Linked DNA regions of Homo sapiens: all the other regions are linked to region 1. Evidence: promoter capture Hi-C in 16 types of primary human blood cells and fetal thymus (Javierre and others, 2016). All regions are on one chromosome and are shown on one strand. Each heading gives the region's core, a stretch centred on a gene start or on the middle of the fragment in contact. The rest is flanking DNA. Distances are from core to core; before and after follow the strand shown. Region 1 holds the start of MEIG1 (meiosis/spermiogenesis associated 1). Region 2 holds the start of RSU1 (Ras suppressor protein 1). Region 3 overlaps PRPF18 (pre-mRNA processing factor 18). Region 4 overlaps FRMD4A (FERM domain containing 4A).

Region 1 (3,037 bases), core at 359-2,858:
GCGCCATGGCGTGATCTTGTCTCACCACAACCTCCGCCTCCCAGGTTAAAGCGATTCTCCTGCCTCAGCCTCCCGAGTAGCTGGAATTACAGGCATGCGCCACCATGCCTGGTTAATTTTTTTGTATTTTTAGTAGAGACGAGGTTTTCCCATGTTGGTCAGGCTGGTCTCGAATTCCCGACCTCAGGTGATCCGCCTGCCTCAGCCTCCCAAAGTGCTGGGATTACAGGGGTGAGCCACCACGCCCGGCCTCGGGCACGTTATTTTAAAAACACACCATCTCGGCGCGGTGGCTCACTCCTATAATCCCAGCACTTTGGGAGACCGAGGCGGGTGGATCACGAGGTCAGGAGATCGAGACCATCCTGGCCAACAAAGTGAAACCCCGTCTCTACTAAAAATACAAAAAATTAGCCGGGCATCGTGGCGGGCACCTGTGGTCCCAGCTACTCGGGAGGCTGAGGCAGGAGAATGGCGTGAACCCGGGAGGCGGAGCTTGCAGTGAGCCGAGATCCCGCCACTGCACTCCAGCCTGGGCTACAGAGCGAGACTCCGTCTCAAAAAACTAAAACAAAAATAAAAACAAAAAACACCATCTCAACTCCCTGACAATCTAAAGTTGGAACAGAAGCTTCTGATGTAGCCAGCCACCCAAATTCCCTTTTCACTTCCCTTTCACTCTGAAAAGCGCTTTTACTTTTAGTAGTATTAAAACTTCAAGAGCATTAGCCTCCCTAATAGTCCCTTTTATTCCTCCTATTAGATTATTTCTGTTCTTAAGAGGCAGCAGGAGGAGCCCTGTAACCAGCACGTAACCTTAGGCAAGGCCATGAACACGCCTGCGCCTGTTTCCTAACTTAAAGAGAAGCATTAGCCGGTCTCTAAGGTCCTGGAACTCCCGTCTGCTGTCGCTGGGCGTTCATTTGAAAGACAAAAGCGGTTCCGAAAGCACGCCCGGCGGTCCCTGCTCTGGGAGTGCTGACCTGCCTGTGTGCAGCACAAAACCGCTCCCTTCCGGCCCTCACAGCTAACCTGCAGTCCCCATCCCTCCAGCTTCCTTTCTGCCATAAATCACTAACTGTGTGGGAGATGAAATCCGCCTGGTGAAGGCTGGGACGGACAAAACACAGTATTCCAAAATCTAGGGCCCAAATCGGAGCCCTCGGAGACGCGGCCCCTAAAGCCAATGGGGTCCGGGGCGGCCCGGAAACTTCCGGGAGAACCGGACCCTGAGATTCTGGAAGGGCCAAATAGTGACCCTCTTCCCTAAAAATCACGGAAGAGACATGAAAACCACGGGATCTCCCTGGCAAACCTCAGGAGACAGCAGAGAACTGCGGAGCCGAGAAGGCGGGGCAAGAACTTCCGGGGTGGGGCTACGGCCGGGGCGCAGGGGTTGGCGGGCAGGGCCCTCGCCTCCAGCGACGCATCCACCCACCCCTGGGTCCGGCTCTACTGGGTTATCCTCGTTCCGCCGAGCAGGAGAGGCCGGGGGCGCCCGGGAGCTTGCAGGCGGGCGTGGGTGCTTGCGTTCTCTACTCGGGATCCGCGAGCAGGGCCAGCGAGAGGCCAAGTGTTGTGCCCTTCGCGACCCTCGCGTCTCTTAGTAACGCGATGAAGCTGCAGGAGCTCCCGGCTCCTTCAGGCCCCGCCCAGCTAGCTCAGGCCCCGCCCCCGGGAGTGGGCTTTTATGCGCATGCGCGAGGGCTGGGGTGGGCGCCGGCCCATCTTACTAAGCCAATGTAGGTCCCAGGTAGGAGCGCTGCCAGGGCTCACCCCTGAGCAGAGATGGAGGGCGAAAAAGGGTTACTTGCCGCTACTTGAATCCCAGACAAAATTCCCTGTGAAAGCGGATCACAGCACGGAGACTGTGTTTGTAGTTCCTGATAGTAGATATCTCCTATCTATTCATTTGCGAGGAATGAACCATTCCAGAGAGTCGCCATAGTGCCTGACAATCAGTAAACCTACAATAGATGATATCTATAGCTTTAATTATTTTTTCTAGCATTATCTATTACTATATTACAGTACTATCTAAGCGAAAAGTGATCAGATTCAAGATATACGGTTTTTTGTTTTTTTGTTTTTGTTTTTTTTTAGACGGAGTCTCGCTCCGTCGCCCAGGCTGGAGTGCAGTGGTGCTATCTCGGCTCACTGCAAGCTCCGCCTCCCGGGTTCACGCCATTCTCCTGCCTCAGCCTCCCGAGTAGCTGGGACTACAGGCACCCACCACCACGCCTGGCTAATTTTTTGTATTTTTAGTAGAGACGGGGTTTCACCGTGTTAGCCAGGATGATCTCGATCTCCTGACCTCGTCATCCACCCGCCTCGGCCTCCCAAAGAGCTGGGATTACAGGCGTGAGCCACCGCGCCCGGCCAATTTACATGTTTTGAATGTAGAGCCATCAGGACTTGTCAAATTGTTGAATGAAAGAAAGGAGCAATTGTGTGCTGGAGCCAGCTCATTAGAGCTCTGGAGACTCAGTAATTAAATTTTTAGGAATTTTTCTGAGCTCGTTGTTAAATACAAGCCATGAGCTGGAGTCAATGAAGATGACAAGGGCCTCGGGCACCTGCCCCAAACAAAACAAAAACACAAGACATATCACAAATTAAATTATATAAACTTCTAAATAAACGAGTCATACTAAAACAAAGGCAATACTTAGTAAAACTAAAAACAAAAAACTATTTACTTACAACTCCCAAATTTCTCTCTTCAGCCCGGTCTTTCTCTGAACTTTAGATTTGTATATCAATGTATATTCAACATCCACTTGATTGTACAAAACAACCTCCCCAAACACCTCCCTGCCAAAACAAAAACAAAAACCCTGCTCCTTCTTCATGTCTTTTAGTAGATGTGGCCTAGAGCCCTCTCTTTCCATATCCATCAATGCAACCTGCTGACTTTATAGCTTCTACTCAAGCCATCATAATTTTTCTTTTTTCTGGTAATTACAACCGTTCCCAACAGCTCTCTATGCCCCCTCTGTAGTCTGTTGTCAACACAACAGTCAATGCAATCTGTTTA
Region 2 (3,037 bases), core at 402-2,901, 1.9 Mb before region 1:
CTATTAGAAATTGATAGAATAAGAAAAATTCTGATTGCTTCAAAACAGGACTTTTGCTTTAAAAGAGTTAATGATTCAAGAAATAAATGTATTAGGAGATTACCTACTAATACGTATTGATGAAATTATGAAGTTAGAAAATCATCAGTGGATGCTAAAACTTGTGGGTAAAAATTAGATGAGGAATGGGGTGTAATCAAGTAGCACCTCCCCCCAGCATTATTTTTAATCATAAAGAAAAAAATAGTAACTTTATGGTGAAGAAACCTGGCAGACACTACCTTATTTAAGTGAACATCACCTATACTGGGAGAAACCGATGCCATCTGTACCTTGATATCATGCACTGGAAAAGACACATCGCTTTAGTGGTGTTTCTCCAAAAATTCATAACCTGAAAGGGAACATCAAACTTACTTTGAAGGATATTCCACACAATACCTGGTCTGTATTCTTAAATAATGTCTAGTTCAATAAACATAAAAGCCAAGGACGGTTCCAGATCAAAGAAGACTAATGGAGGAATAACTCTTTCATCTGGAATGTTTTTTAAGCAAGAAATACCTGCTTTCGAATTTAAGAGTGCAGATCCTTTTTTTATCCAATTGGTTCGGAGATATAATTACATTATTTTACCACATCTCCTTAAGGCTTTGATCCCTGCTACAATCTACAATATATAAATGCATATGTGTGGCATCCGTCTTATCATCAATTTAGGTGACCAGTAGAAGAAAAGTGCCTGGTGCCAATTTTTATTCCATAGTATAAAATAGTCTCTCAGGACAGGGTTTTTGGTGAGAGAAGCACAGGATGTTGCTGGGTGACTGAGACTGGGTCAGGAAATAGGGAGGCAGAGGGCAACAGTTTCTCTAGAATTTAAAATTTGGTTGCTTTTGGAAGAGAAAGCAAGAGATTCCTGGAAGCCAGAACGTCATGTTTCACAAATGTAAAAGTCCTAGTTGGGAAAGACACATCGCTTTAGTGGTGTTTTCAAATGACTTTTAAAATAGTAGGGTTTTACTTGTAGGTTCTAGCTACAAGTAAAAAGGCTAAAAGCCAGCCTTAGAAACCTGTCAAAAAAGATTTCCAGCAGGGCGCTGGGGAAACGCAGACCGCGCCGGAATCCCCGCCTGGAGAAGCTCTTAATAGGGCGGGAAACTGCGTGCCCCACAAGGTCCCTCAGAGGCACATTGTGGAGACGGGCTCAGGGTAGCAACTTCTGGCGAGTGGAGCGGCTATTACACAAGCGAAACATTCGGAAGCAATTTACTTCCAGCTTTCGCAACACCCACCCTGAGCCACCACCCTCCCTTACACAGTCACGCCACAAACTTCCCCACTTCCGCCCACAGCCCTCTGGGCTTCGACCCATCAACTGAGCTTGCGCCAAGTCTACTGCGCACGCGCCAACTTCGGCCCAATCAGCGTCCCAAACCGTGGGGTGGACGCCACCGGGATAAACTATCCTCAGCGTGGGGCGGGGTCTCGAAGCCGAATAACGAACGTGATTAGCCAGCCTCTTCCACAGACTTTTAAGGGCGGAGCCTGGCCCTGGAGACACGTCTGGAGAGCTGTTCTCCTAATATGGGTAGGGTCGGGCGTGGAGCTGGCAGCGGCGCTGTGTGCGCCTGCGCGGGGCGCCGAGACAGGGCGTGTTCGCTGTTCAGTGCCGGTGTTGCAGGGAGTGAGGGCAGCTGGAGTGCGTTCTGCCGAAGCTTGTGGTTGCACGCCCATCGTCTTAGGGGCTACCTTCCGTGGTGAGTGTGTGCGGTGTTGCACTTGGGGTTGCTTCTCGCTGCGTGGCCGCAGCGGGGCTGAACCCTTCCCACTCCATCCCCTCCCCGCACCCGGACCAGCCCCTGGGACGCCCTCGGACGCCCACCCGCTCCAACCCTGGGGAAGCCTCAGAGTGGCAGCGAAGGCCTCTTGCCTTTCCGCCTCTGCGCTTGCTGTCATCGCCCACGTGCTTTGTTGTTGTTCGGTGCAGACCATGTCCAAGTCTCTGAAGAAGTTGGTGGAGGAGAGCCGGGAGAAGAACCAGCCCGAGGTGGACATGAGTGACCGGGGCATCTCCAACATGCTGGATGTCAACGGCCTCTGTGAGTTCTCGGGCAGGACTCTCCCGTGGATGAGCTGGAAGGCTTTCTAAGTTTGCCAATTCACTGCTGGTCCTGCTGTGAGCGATTGTACTGGTTTAGACCCCAGCCCCTGCTTGTAAACCTCACTTGTCAGGGGCTTCGCGCAGAGGGTTTGCAGTAGGATTTGTTCTGTTCCACCTGGAAAACGATCCTGAGAGTCCACGATGAGAATCACACAGACAGCTGTGCCTCATCGGTTGTCTCTGCTGTATGGCATTGAGGTGGATTTTCCACAGTTTGCTTAATAGTCACTTTAATTATAAATTGAAAATTAATTTTGAGTCCTTCTTCCTGTCTCCTAATACAGTCTTTGTCCATGAACAAATGACACAGAAAAGTTCCATGGTTAATAAGCATTCTTGTGCCTGGAGCGTTTTAAGCATTTCTTGAATCTTTACATTCTTCTGAGTATTTATTCTCCGAACTTGGTTCAGGCTTTTGTCACCTCCTCATGCTGTGGTGAAATCCTCCTAACTTGCCCTCTTGCCTTCAGTTTCACTGCCCAGTTTAATCACTGGGTCACTTTCAGTGTCATTTTCCTGTAACCCCTGTCTATGGTGTTACCCTCTCCCTTAAAACCAGGGATTGCAGATTCACATGCCTCCAAGTGAGGGCGGTCAGGGGCGGTTATGAACTAGGTGATAGGTGTCCCACTTGAAGGGGCCAGCTGCTGCACCTGCTACTCAGACACATGTCACCATAGGAATGTTGGCCCAATGTGCCAGATTATTTTCTTAAAGGAACCAAGATTCTATATTTTTATGTGAAATTTGCTAATTTTTAGATGTTGGCTACTAATTCTAATATTTGAAAAACCTGTGATAAGTGAGCTAAAGCAGTTCTTCAGGCTGACGTGGCTTTGGTTTAAACCCTCTCCGCACTTCTCCAGGTTGTCC
Region 3 (3,037 bases), core at 287-2,786, 1.4 Mb after region 1:
GTAAGGTGAATAAATATCCATTCTATCTGTACAGGTTAACAGATCAGGCTCTGAAGTAGGAACAGACCAGGGTTCAAATCCAGGCTCTATCTCTTGCTAGCTGCATAATCCTATAGTCATGTAACTTCTCTTAGCTTCCAGTTTCCTCATCTGTAAATGGGAACAATGGCAACTTGTTGTACAAGTTAGAAAACACATATTGCATGATGCCTAACATTACTGCTAATATAAACTATGAATGTCAGTATTTTTTTTTTTTTTTTTTGAGATGGAGTCTCGCTCTGTCGCCCAGGCTGCAGTGCAGTGGCACAATATCAGCTCACTGCAAGCCCCGCCTCCCGGGTTCACGCCATTCTCCTGCCTCAGCCTCCTGAGTAGCTGGGACTACAGGCACCTGCCACCATGCCCAGCTAATATATATATATATATATATTTTTTTTTTTTGTATTTTCAGTAGAGATGGGGTTTCACCGTGTTAGCCAGGATGGTCTCAATCTCGTGATCTGCCCACCCCAGGCTCCCAAAGTGCTGGGATTACAGGCGTGAGCCACCGCGCCCGGCCGAATGTCAGTATTTTAATTCCCATTTCATGTACGCCCTTTGTTGGTCTGAACTGCTCTGTGATTGAAAAAATCAATCTTATCTTCTGGCTGGAATTATGTGATAATTCAATCAACTACCAAATTAAAAAATGAAAGACACCCAGGAAAAGTTTATATATTATAAATTATAAATGACCCTGAAGAATCTAAAGTTTTTTTTTTAATGATCATTTTTGTAGATTGGTGCATTTCAATGACGAAGAACATGATTATGCAAATATTCATGTTGTGAACCTTGAGGGTGGGCTGAATATTTTGTGATTCACTTTTCCCTTTAAAGCACTTAGATTTCAACACCCTGGCCCTTCCTAACATCCACTATGCACTCCAACACCTAAATTTAAAATACTCCCAACCACTCATCAAAAGGTCCCTGCAGTAGACATAAAAACATTTACAAATATGAACAAGCTTTTCCCCATACCTACCAAACAGCATTCTATTACCTCCACTTTTCTAATTGTTTTTAAAGTTTCAATGATCATGAAATTTGCCATTTACCAAGCTAAGAACTCTAACTTACTTACACTACATCACATACATCAATCGTACACAACATCCAAATATCTAAGTCAGATATTCTGTGATGCACGGATTTCCATGGGTCCTGTAGACCCTCTGAGAGGACTCATGAGGTCAAAAGTGTTTTCTACAGTAAGGCATTATCTGCCTGCTCACTCTGATGACATCTGCACTGTAGGTGAAAAGCAATGGTAAATTTGCTAAAGCCTTAGCAAGAACCAAGGCAGTGACTCTAAACTGCCACTGCAGCCAGAGGGAGCCAGTTTCTCTAAACAAATTTACTCCTTATGATAAAGGAGTAAAATTACTATTTTTATTAAGTCTTGATCTTTGGCCATATCTTTTTAATATTATGTGACAAAACAGGAAAGATGCATACAACAATTCTCATTTATACTAAAGTTTGCTGGTTGTGTGGAGGAAAGTAATTGAGTTGCAAGCTAAACTGGCTTTTTCACGGAATACCATTTTTACACTTAAGAACACCCGGCAAACCATGGTTCTTCAGACTTGGGTATTTGGCAGACAACTTCCCCAAACTGAACAAAGTGAGCAGATCACTTCAAGAAAATAACTGATAATATTTGTTGCCTATGATAAAATTCCAGCTTCCAAGTGGAAATTAAGTGTGGTGAACTTAGATCTGTCATCAGGAGCCTGACAGTTTCCTAATGCTTACAGATGTTTCTCAGATCAGTGGATATTAAATGAAGTGATCTTTTCATATTTTGTAATGAAATGTGTCAACAGGTGGGAGACCTGCATAATTCAGTAACCCAATGTTTTCCAAATGATCGATCAGTGAGTATTTTTAACGTTTCTCAGTTTTAACTTCTAATATGGTAAATACGGATAGAAATAACACATAAACAAAAGTCCTTCAAGATCTTCAGTAACTTTTAAGAGTGTGAAGGGGTCCTGAGACCAAAAGCTTTGAGAACCAGCGGTCTAAGTTACTGCTACACAATAAAGTAAGGGAGATCATCTTCAGGAAGTTCCTAAATCATGTAATTCTTTCTCCCCCTTTTTAGTACCTTTCCAAAAGAGTCTTAGCATTCCCATCAGTGAAGAGCAGGCCTACAGACTTTTCATGTGTTGAAGAAGAGAGAAGGAGGAGGAATAGAATTTAAAAAATTGGGATTTACTATTAGAAAGGAATTTTATTACTTTTTTTTTTTTTTTTTTAGAGACAGGGACTCGGTCTCTCACCCAGGCTGGAGTGCAGTGGCACGATGATAGCTCACTGCAGCCTGAACTCCTGGGCTCAAGCGATCCTCCCGCCTTGGTCTCCCAAGCAGCCGGGACTAGACGCGCGCACCACCACACCTGGCTAGAAGGAATTTTTTTTTTTTTTTGAGACGGTGTCTCACTCTGTCGCCCAGGCAGGAGTGCAGTGGTGCGATGTCGGCTCACGGCAACCTCCGCCTCCCGGGTTCAAGTGATTCTCTGGCCTCAGCCTCCTGAGTAGCTGGGATTACAGGCGCGCACCACCACGCCCAGCTAATTTTGGTGTTTTTAGTAGAGACGGGGTTTCACCATGTTTGCCAGGCTGGTCTCGAACTCCTGACCTCAGGTGATCTGCCCACCAAAGTGTGGGGATTACAGGTGTGAGCCACCGCGCCCGGCGGCCCTTCCTCCATGTTTCAGTTGGGCACAAACCCTTCGTAAGGCGACAGAAGGGAACTCTCAGGAGCACTGGGGCACGTCCGCAGAATGCCAACAGGTAGGAGCGGGGATAGGGGGCAGTTAGGTAAACTGGAGGGAAACAGGGTCAGTCGGGGGAAAACAAACAAAGCCTCGGGTTTTCCTGCAATTCCCACACCTGCATCCCTAAGGCTCCCAAGTGGTTACCGGAAAGAAGGCCGTGAGTGTAAGTTGCCCGGGTCCTTGGCGTTTTGAACAAAGAATTGGAC
Region 4 (3,037 bases), core at 150-2,649, 1.2 Mb after region 1:
AATATTTAATAAGCTCAAACACATAAACACAGAGCACCTATTTCGTTCTCCTTCAGACTCTCTGATAAAATATTCTCGGGTCGGGATCATCTGAGCTAGTTTGGGTGGGCTGTTGCTTGTGGAGTCAGGAAACCTCTTAGCAAGGTCTGCGCTCCATCTAGAGTGTTCCTTTAGACTCAAATAGATGCCCTAAGATTCAGTCCTGCTAAGTGTGCCCCCAAAACCCGTTTAAAATGTAGGTCTGATTATGATTCAGCTGTGGTGAGGCCAGCAGATGAGGAGAGGACAGACATTGAAAAGATTGTCACTCAGTTCCTGGGAGAAGGGGCCACACCATGCCACGCAGGGCCATGTGGGAGGCATTGGGGAGCCGGGAAACAATTGGGCAAGAGCATTTTTTGTGGTTTCTTTGGGGAGGAACGGGCAAGGCTGGGAGAGCAGGCTTGGGATTGGCTAGTTTAAATAATTTCAGCGGGCTCTGCAGCATGGGGGCTGCCCCCTAGTTGTCTGGTACGTGTCCCTAGGGTGGTGAGGGCAGGGAAATAGTGGCCCTGGGTGTGAGAGCCGAGAGGTGGTGGGAGGGGTGGACCCTGGATCCATGGTGACATGTGGAAGTCTTGGGGTCTGGAAATTGGCTAACCCTGGCACCAGCAGTCCCTCCAGGCCCAGCAAGGTCACAGACATCCAAGCATCATAAAGCCATGGTCAATACACAGCCAGACTCGGAACTGTCCATGCAGACCCTCTGAATCCGAGACATAGCCTTCATTTATTTCCCTGGTTACCCAGAGACCTGGAATGTTCTTTGTGAACCCTGGAAGCACTCCCTGCTCCATGCTGGTAGTTAAGGAAATGCAACATTGCCACCTACTGCTGAGGCTCTCCTGAAAATCAGAAAAAGAAGCCACTTTTTTTTTTTTTCTTTTTTTTTGAGACAGATCTGCCTGCCTCGGCCTCCCAAAGTGCTGGGATTACAGGCATGCCCGGCCAAAAACTATGCCCGGCCAAAAACTATGCCCAGCCAAAAACTGGATTAAAAAAAAAAAAGAAGAAGAGGCTGGCCTGTAACCTGAGTACTTTGGGAGGTCAGGGTAGGATAATTACTTGAGCTCAGGAGTTCAAGACCAGCCTGGGCAACATAGTGAGACCCCATCTCGACAGAAAATAAAAAATTAGTCAGCATGGTGGCTTATATCTGTAGTCCCAGCTATCTGGGAGGCTTAGACAGACAGGTCACTTGATCCCAGGAGGTCGAGGCTGCAGTGAACTGTGGTTGCACACTGCACTCCAGCCTGAGTGACAGAGCAAGACCCCATCTCAAAAAGAAAAAAAAGAAAAAAAAATTTTGACTTTGAATCCAAACCCTCAGCCCTCCCCATCTTCCCAGGAGGCTCTTGTCCCTGGTGCCACCGGTGTGCACCATGCCTCTCTGGGCGTGCGGGTGGAGAGGTCTGAGCTCTGTTTCTCTGCAGGCGTTTTTGACTCAGCCGTTCCCTGGCAGGGAGGGAAAGCTCAGGATGAGCTCCATACCCTCCCCTAACAGAACAATGATATGACAGGCCCGGAGCTCACGGGGTTTTCCAGGCTGTCGTCTTGGTGATAAAAGTTAACAGGAAACTGCTTTCCACTTCCGTCGAGAGGAGGTGATTTTTTTTCTCTTCATCTCAGAATATGCGTGTTATTTCCTGTACCTTCTCTGCCCCTTTTATGGCTAGACAACAGAGAGCTTGGTGGAAATGAAGGCAGTCACAGAGATGTAGAATTTGCCACCTCAATTCAGTTTTCCATCATATGAGAGTGGAAACGAAAAGGGAAGCGTTATATTTTCTTAATATACTATTCAGGAGAAAATTGGGGTGGAAGAGGCAGGATGTCTTTACTCTTTACTTTTTAAGAACTAAAGCAAATGAGATTCTTTTAAGAAACATATGGCATTACTTTGAAAATTAAGTTATTTCAGACCTTATATGAATTTAGACTCAAAATCATCATTAGAGCACAAAGGCCACCGTCAACTTCAGGAGGCTTCTGTTAATATTCTGGTGTTAGGATTGCTTTCTCTCTTCCTTGCCTCCCCTTTCTCTCCCTTTCCTCGCTTTTCCTTCTTTTCCTTCCTTTAGTTTCTTTTATTATTCTGCCTACCCTTTGCCAGAGGCCCTTTGCAAAGGATGTAGATTTATTTATTTATTTTTGAGACGGAGTTTCGCTTTTGTTGCCCAGGCTGGAGTGCAATGGCATGATCTCAGCTGACTGCAACCTCCGCCTCCCAGGTTCAAGCGATTCTCCTGCCTCAGCCTCCCAAGTAGCTGGGATTACGGGTGTCCGCCACCACGCCTGGCTAATTTTTTGTATTTTTAGTAGAGACAGGCTTTCACCATGTTGGCCAGGCTGGTCTCGAACTCCTGACCTCAGTTGATCCACACATCTTGGCCTCCCAAAGTGCTGGGATTACAGGCATGAGCTACGATATAGATTTATTTTTTGAAAATCAAATCATTAAAAAGTCAGGAAACAACAGGTGCCGGAGAGGATGTGGAGAAATAGGAACACTTTTACACTGTTGGTGGGACTGTAAACTAGTTCAACCATTGTGGAAGACAGTGTGGCGATTCCTCAAGGATCTAGAATTAGAAATACCATTTGACCCAGCCATCCCATTACTGGGTATATACCTGAAGGATTATAAATCATGCTGCTATAAAGACACATGCACACGTATGTTTATTGTGGCACTATTCACAACAGCAAAGACTTGGAACCAACCCAAATGTCCATCAGTGGTAGACTGGATTAAGAAAATGTGGCACATATACACCATGGAATACTATGCGGCCACAAAAAAGGATGAGTTCATGTGCTTTGTAGGGACATGGATGAAGCTGGAAACCATCATTCTGAGCAAACTGTCACAAGGACAGAAAACCAAACACCACATGTTCTTACTCATAGGTGGCAATTGAACACTGAGAACACTTGGACACAGGGTGGGGAACATCACATACTGGGGCCTGTCGTGGGGTGGGGGGTAGGGGGAGGG

The links. Contacts are between HindIII fragments. The CHiCAGO score rates a contact against its expected background, and 5 or more counts as called.
Region 2: a contact is called between the fragment with the promoter of RSU1 here and the fragment with the promoter of MEIG1 in region 1, in 2 of 17 cell types (activated CD4 T cells and fetal thymus). The highest score is 7.7, in activated CD4 T cells.
Region 3: a fragment that was not itself captured here is called in contact with the fragment with the promoter of MEIG1 in region 1 in 1 of 17 cell types (naive CD4 T cells); the score reaches 5.6 in naive CD4 T cells.
Region 4: a fragment that was not itself captured here is called in contact with the fragment with the promoter of MEIG1 in region 1 in 5 of 17 cell types (naive CD8 T cells, total CD8 T cells, naive CD4 T cells and 2 more); the score reaches 10.0 in naive CD8 T cells.

Annotation. Positions count from the first base shown.
Region 1 is chr10:14,957,959-14,960,995 of GRCh38, reverse strand. It overlaps MEIG1 (meiosis/spermiogenesis associated 1), which reads right to left and starts at 1,608. Exons shown (of 3, transcript NM_001080836.3): 1 at 1,439-1,608. RefSeq lists a silencer at 1,336-1,385. The HindIII fragment of the contact is 3,683 bases long and covers 634-3,037 here.
Region 2 is chr10:16,816,038-16,819,074 of GRCh38, reverse strand. RSU1 (Ras suppressor protein 1) reads left to right here and starts at 1,651. Exons shown (of 9, transcript NM_012425.4): 1 at 1,651-1,760; 2 at 1,991-2,102. The coding sequence starts at 1,994. LOC105376435 (a long non-coding RNA gene) reads right to left here and starts at 1,376. Exons shown (of 3, transcript XR_930708.3): 1 at 1,319-1,376; 2 at 333-394. RefSeq lists enhancers at 1,033-1,082, 1,113-1,202, 1,233-1,342, 2,013-2,172. The HindIII fragment of the contact is 3,392 bases long and covers 1-1,720 here.
Region 3 is chr10:13,587,849-13,590,885 of GRCh38, reverse strand. All of the region lies in intron 1 of PRPF18 (pre-mRNA processing factor 18), which reads right to left. Among named protein-coding and RNA genes, the nearest start is that of PRPF18, 2.4 kb to the right of the region's middle. RefSeq lists an enhancer at 2,856-3,037. The HindIII fragment of the contact is 1,042 bases long and covers 1,016-2,057 here.
Region 4 is chr10:13,785,762-13,788,798 of GRCh38, reverse strand. The region is part of intron 5 of FRMD4A (FERM domain containing 4A); the gene reads left to right. Among named protein-coding and RNA genes, the nearest start is that of PRPF18, 200 kb to the right of the region's middle. RefSeq lists enhancers at 1-490, 1,306-1,355. The HindIII fragment of the contact is 4,505 bases long and covers 1-3,037 here.